2 separate regions of the Homo sapiens genome follow, and region 2 is linked to region 1. The links are contacts of gene promoters, found by promoter capture Hi-C in blood cells and fetal thymus (Javierre and others, 2016). All regions are on one chromosome and are shown on one strand. The core of a region is centred on a gene start or on the middle of the fragment in contact, and the rest is flanking DNA. Distances in the headings are between cores, read along the strand shown.

The links. Contacts are between HindIII fragments. The CHiCAGO score rates a contact against its expected background, and 5 or more counts as called.
Region 2: a contact is called between a fragment that was not itself captured here and the fragment with the promoter of LRRC3 in region 1, in 1 of 17 cell types (M1 macrophages). The highest score is 7.4, in M1 macrophages.

What each region holds. Positions count from the first base shown.
Region 1 is chr21:44,453,934-44,457,172 of GRCh38, forward strand. It overlaps LRRC3 (leucine rich repeat containing 3), which reads left to right and starts at 1,577. Exons shown (of 2, transcript NM_030891.6): 1 at 1,577-1,722; 2 at 2,565-3,239. The coding sequence starts at 2,712. It overlaps LRRC3-DT (LRRC3 divergent transcript), which reads right to left and starts at 1,351. Exons shown (of 4, transcript NR_047476.1): 1 at 1,311-1,351; 2 at 1,044-1,119. RefSeq lists an enhancer at 574-1,074 and silencers at 1,238-1,417, 1,506-1,935. The HindIII fragment of the contact is 8,140 bases long and covers 1-3,239 here.
Region 2 is chr21:44,789,777-44,793,015 of GRCh38, forward strand. The region is part of intron 1 of UBE2G2 (ubiquitin conjugating enzyme E2 G2); the gene reads right to left. Among named protein-coding and RNA genes, the nearest start is that of UBE2G2, 10 kb to the right of the region's middle. The HindIII fragment of the contact is 3,844 bases long and covers 1-3,239 here.

The sequences.
Region 1 (3,239 bases), core at 327-2,826:
AATTCTGCTCTTTGAAAAACTGTTAAGAGAATGAACACACAATCCAAAGGCTTGGAGAAAGCATTTACAGATCACATATCTGATAAAGGACTTGTATCCAGAATATGCAACAAACTCCCAAACTCAATAATAAGAAAATAAACAACCCAATTAAAAGTGAGTAAAAGATTTGAACTCAACGCTTACTACAGGAGATGGAGAATAAACAGATGAAATGATGCTCAACATCATTGGCCAACAGGGAAACGCAAATTAAAACCACAGTTCCATCTATCACCACACACCTATTAGAGTATTTGAAATTAAAAAGACAAACCATACCAAGTGCTGGGGAGGATGTGGAATGTAAAACCATACAATCGCTTTGGCAGTTTCTTAAAAAGTTTCACATATGGCTACCGTGGCATCCAGCCACTCCACTCCTAGACATCTATTCAAGAGAAAGAAAAGCATTCATCCAAAGACTTGTGCACAATGTTCGGATCAGCTTTATCTGTAAGAGCCAACACCAGAAACAACCCAAATGCCCACCAGCAGGTGAATGGACACAAACTGTGGTACATTCATACACTGGAGTACCATGCAGCTGTAAAAGAAATACGCATTGACAAACCAAATGACGCAGGCAAATCTCAAAAATAATTGTGCTGAGTGAAAGAAGCTACACAAAAAGTACATATTATATGATTCCATTTGTGCAAATCATAGGAAATGCAAAGTAATCAGTAGTGACAGAATGCAGATCAGTGCTTGCCTGGGGATGAGGGAGGGCAGGGAGAGATGACCAAGAGGGAACCCGGGGTGTTCACTATGCTGATTGTGGTGATGGTTTCACAGGAGTATCCGAGTGTTAAAACGTACCAAATTGAAATATGTGGCTTACCGTCTGTCAATTACACCACAATAAGGCTACTTTTTGAAAACCATGAGGATGGCTCAGGTCCGGCTCAAATGCCCCCACCCTGCGTTCCTTCCTTGGGATGTCAGACGCTGGAGCTGGAGCAGAAGGGGACCTAGATGGGCGGAGATCTAGCCCTACTCACCCACTGGCCACGGGGTAGGCGAGGGACGCTCAGCAGGGGCTTCCCGCAGACCCAGGGTCTTCAAGCCCCAGAAGTCCTGATGCCAGAGGGAAGAGGGGATTTGCCCAGAGTGAGGGGCAGGGGCTGGACCCACAGCCCCTCCCGGCGCGCAGACCCCGCCCCCACCCATAACCACGCCCTCAGCCCCCACCACCTCGTCCTCAGCCCCACAACCACGCCCCCAGCATGCCACAATTACTCCCACAACCCGCCCACAGCCCCTGCGACCTGGGTCTTAGTACCAGCTCCATCTAAAGCCGCACCACCGGCCCCTCCCATGCCCCTCCCATGCCCCTCCCCCATCTCTTCCAGGCCCCGCCCTGCCGCAGAACCCGCCCTCAAGCCCCGCCCCCGCCTAACCACAAATCCCGTTCCGGTCTCCTTACATGCCCCGCCCCTTCCCCGCCCCCGCGGGGAATCGACACAGCCTGTCTCCGCCTTTCGCCCCGCCCCCTCCAGGCCCCGCCCCACCCCGCCCCTCGCCCGCGCAGGCCGGAGTCGCGGCCTCCCCAGCTAGTGGTCGCGGGCGCGGTCGCAGGGGCAGCGGGGTGGCCGCCGCGCCAGGCGTGGAGCTGGGTCTGGCGGGCTCCGAGAGGCCCGGGAGCGGCGCGCAGAGCAGCCTCCGGCCGCCGCCGCGCAGGTAAAGCCCCCGCCCAGCCCTGGGAGCGTGGATTCCCACCCACCCCATGACCATCCCCCCGCCGCGAGTGCTGGGGTCTCGGGGGTCCCAGGTTCCGGGGGTCCTAGGGCCGGAGGGTCTAAAGGCTGGAGGTCCTGGGGGTCCGAGCCTCTCCCGGCCGGCTCCGCGCGCGGCCCCGCCGTCCACGCCCAGCGCGGGCCGCGCGCACAGGGCTTGGCTTCTCTGTTTTCTCGGTTTCCTTCTTCAGGCAGTTGAAAGAAAAGGCGCGGTTCTGTGCCCGGTGCGAGCCGCGGCTCCTTTAGGGCTGGCAGGGAAGGGCTTGCTGGGTTATGACAGTTTTTAGGGGTTGTCGGAGTCAGCCAGGCGTTGGCTGCTGGAGTAGCCCCTGGCGCGCGAGCGCCCGCTGGTGCCCGGCCACGTGCCCAGCTTGACCCGCGCTCCAGGTTCGGGAGAAGCTGCAGCCGTCACCGTCCTCCTGGCGTCCACCCTGAGGAGGGAGGGGCTGGGTGGTCCAAGCCGCCGCCACTCCGCCGCCCGGCCTTTGGTCCCCAGCGGTGCTGTAGGTGGCCAGGGGTGGCCGCAGTGACCACCCACTGGGCCATGCGGAGCCCCCTGGCAGTGCCAGCTCCCTGCACTTGTGGGACGCTCCTCCCGGGCGCATTGGGAGTCTCCAGAAGTAAGTTACAGGCAGAGCTGTTTAAGGAGGCGTGCTCCCCACCCCAGACCCTTCAGTGGGCCCTCAACACCCTCCCCACCAGTGGACGCGTTTCCCAGGTGACCGCAGCCGGCAGTGCTGACCACCCTCCCTCCCTCTCCGCTCCCTCCTGCGTCTTCCCTTTCAGAGCTGCCAGAGTGGACTGCACTGCTTCTCCCAGCGGGGCAGGATGGCGGTTTCATGTCTGGTTGGATAAGGCCTTGCCTGCGGAAACCAGCTCCATCCCCAGGCCCTAGCAGAGGCTCGCGTGTCCCCGTCCCCAGGTCAGGTCAGGATGGGCACCGTGCGCCCACCTCGCCCCTCGCTCCTGCTGGTCTCCACCCGGGAGTCTTGTCTCTTCCTCCTCTTCTGCCTGCACCTGGGCGCCGCCTGCCCACAGCCCTGCCGGTGCCCTGACCACGCAGGGGCTGTGGCTGTCTTCTGCAGCTTGCGGGGCCTTCAGGAGGTCCCCGAGGACATCCCGGCCAACACCGTGCTCCTGAAGCTCGATGCCAACAAGATCTCCCACCTCCCGGACGGGGCCTTCCAGCACCTGCACCGGCTCAGGGAGCTGGATCTGTCTCACAACGCCATCGAGGCCATCGGCTCCGCCACCTTCGCGGGCCTGGCCGGGGGCCTGCGGCTGCTGGACCTGTCTTACAACCGCATCCAGAGGATCCCCAAGGACGCCCTGGGCAAACTCAGCGCCAAGATACGCCTGTCCCACAACCCCCTGCACTGCGAGTGCGCCCTGCAGGAGGCCCTGTGGGAGCTGAAGCTGGACCCCGACTCTGTGGACGAGATCGCCTGCCACACCTCAGTG
Region 2 (3,239 bases), core at 314-2,813, 340 kb after region 1:
ATGTTGAATCCTAATGTATGTGGTATTGGGAGGTGGGACCTTTGGGAGGAGATTAGGTCAGGAGGGCAGAACTCTCATGAATGGAGTTAGTGCCTTTATAAGAAGAAACGAGAGATTTGCCTCTGGCCATGTAAGGGCACAAGGAGAAGACAGTCATCTGCAAACCAGGAAGACAGCCCTCACCAGACTTCCCAGCCTCCAGAATTGGGAGCAATAAATGTTTGTTGTTTAAGCTCCCTGGTCTTTGGTATTTTTTTACAGCAGCCTGAACTGACTAAAACAGATGGCTAATAAGCACATGAGAAAATGCTCAACATTGTGAATCATAAGGGTAATGCAAATTAAAACCACAATAAGATACAGCTCAATAGCTTCAGCATTATCAGTATCTTTAGTCACAAAAGAATGGCCAAAATTAAAGACTTAAAGTGCTGGCAAGTTTAGCAAGTAGATCTCTCATGCACCACTGATGGGAATGCAAAATGGTTTGGTTACCCTTTGGGAAAGAAGTTTGACCATTTCCACTAAAATTACATATATATTGACTCTAAGACCCAGCAATTCTACTGGGTCTTATGTTGCCATAGACTTTTGTGTGAATGTTCATAGTAGCTAAATTCGTAATAGCCCCAAACTGGAAACAACCCAAATGTCCATTGATATGGTTTGGCTTTGTGTCCCCACACAAATTTCATCTTGAATTGTAATCTCCAGGTGTTGAGGGAGGAACCTAGTGGAAGGTGACTGGATCATGGGGGCAATTTCCTCCATGCTGTTCTCATGACAGTGAGTTCTCATGAGATCTGGTGGTTTTATAAGTGTTCGAAAGTTCCTCCTTCACTCTTCTTTCTTGCCACCTTGTGAAGAAGGTGCTTGCTTCCCCTTCGGCTTCTGTCATGATAAGTTTCCTGAGGCCTCCCTAGCCATGTGGAACTGTGAGTCAATTAAACCTCTTTCCTTTATAAATTATCCAGTCTCAGGGAAGTTCTTATAGGAGTGTGAAAACAGATGAATACAGTAAATTGGTACCAGGGGTACTGCTATAAAGATAACCTGAAAATGTGGAAGCAACTTCAGAACTGGGTAGTAGGCAGAGGTTGGAACAGTTTGAAGGGCTTAGAAGAAGGAAGATGTGGGAAAGTCTGGAACTTCCTAGAGACTTGCTGAATGCTTTTGACCAAAATGCTGATAGTGACATGGACAATGAAGCCCAGGCTGAGGTGGTCTGAAAAAGAGAAGAGGAACTTCTTGGGAACTGGAGCAATGGTCACCCTTGCTATGTTTCAACAAAGAGAATGGTGAGATTTTGCCCCTGCCCTAGAGATCTGTGGAACTTTGAACTTGAGAGAGATGATCTGAAATTGGAACTCGTGTTTAAAAGAAAGCAGGGAATAAAAGTTTGAAAACTTCGCAGCATGACGGTGCAATAAAAAAGAAAAACCCATTTTCTGGAGAGAAATTCAAATAAGTAACAAGGAGCCAAATATTAATCGCCAAGACAATGGGGTAAATGTCTCCAGAGCATGTCAGAGATCTTGGCAGCAGCCCCTCCCATCACAAGCAGGGAGGCCTAGGAGGGAAAAATGGTTTTGTGGGCCAGGCCCAGCCCCGCTGCTACTCTGTGCAGCCTTGGTACTTGGTGCCCTGTGTCCCAGCTGTTCCAGCTCCAGCCATGGCTAAAAAGGGCCAAGGTACAGCTCAGGCTGTTGCTTCAGAGAGTACAAACCCCAAGCCTTGGCAGCTTCCACGTGGTGTTGGGCCTGTGGGTGCAAAGAATTCAATAACTGACGTTTGGGAACCTTCACCTACATTTCAGAGGATGTAGGGAAACGCCTGGATGTCCAGACAGAAATCTGCTGCAGGGGCAGGGCCCTCATGGAGAACATCTGCTAGGGCATTGCAGAAGGGAAATGTGGGGTTGGAGCTCCCAGAGTCCCCACTGGGGCACTGCCTAGTGGAGCTGTGAGAAGAGAACAACCATCCTCCAGACCCCAGAACGGTAGATCCACCAAGAGCTTTGCACTGTGCACCTAGAAAAGCCAAAGACACTCAATGCCCACCATGAAAGTAGCTGAAGGGGGTGGGTGTGGGAGGGCTGTACCCTACAAAGCCACAGGGGCAGAGCTGCCCAAGACCATGAAAGCCACTCCCTGTATCAGTGTGCCCTGGATGTGAGACACGGGGTCACAAAGGAGACCATTTTGAGCTTTAAGATTTAATGACTGCCCAGCCGGATTTCGGACTTGCATGGGGGCCTGTAGCCCTTTGTTTTGGCCAATTTCTTCCATTGGTAATGGGAGTATTTATCCAATGCCTGTATTTCCATTGTATCTTGAAAGTAACTAACTTGCTTTTGATTTTACAGGCTGCTAGGCAGAGGGGACTTACCTTGTCAGAGATGAGACTTTGGACTTGGACTTTTGAGTTAATGACGAAATGAGTTAAGACTTTGGGGGCCTTGCTGGGAAGGCATGATTTGTTTTGAAATGGAATGGTTTTGAAAGGAACATGAGATTTGGGAGGGGTAGGGGGAGAAATGACATGGTTTGGCTTTGTGTCCCTACCCGAATCTCACCTTGACTTGTAATCCCCAAAGTGTTGAGCGAGGAACCTGGTAGGAGGTGACTGGATCATGGGGGCAGTTTCCCTCATGCTGTTCTCGTGATAGCGAGTTCTCAGGAGACATGATGGTTCTATAAGTGTGTGGCAAGTTCTTCCTTGGCTTGCTCTTCTCTCTCCTACCGCCTTGAGAAGAGGTCTGTTTCCCTTTCTGCCATGACTATAAGTTTCCTGAGGCCTCGTCAGTTATGCAGAACTGTGAGTCAACTAAACCTCTTTCCTTTATAATTACCCAGTCTCAGGTAGTATCTTTATGGCAGTATAAGAACGGACTAATGTACCGATTAACCGTTTAATGAACCCACAACCTTGGGTAGAACAAGGCCTACCCAAGGAAAAATTATTTCACTCAAAATACCACTAACACCTGCTGAGAAGCCCTGATCCAGGAAACAGAGGTCCTGAAGAGACCTAAGTGCTGTCACAAGGGTGTGCTGACACCCAGCAGTGAGAGAAGGCAGAGTGGCAAGGAGGGGCCAGCAAGGCAGGCCAAAGGCAAGTGCTGGCCCCAAGGGCCAAGTGCATTAAACATTTCAGGGGTGGGTGGGAACTGAATGTGAATGAGGTCAAGTACCAAGCCGACTAAGACCTTGGATTTCACAAGCCACACCCTGATGTTC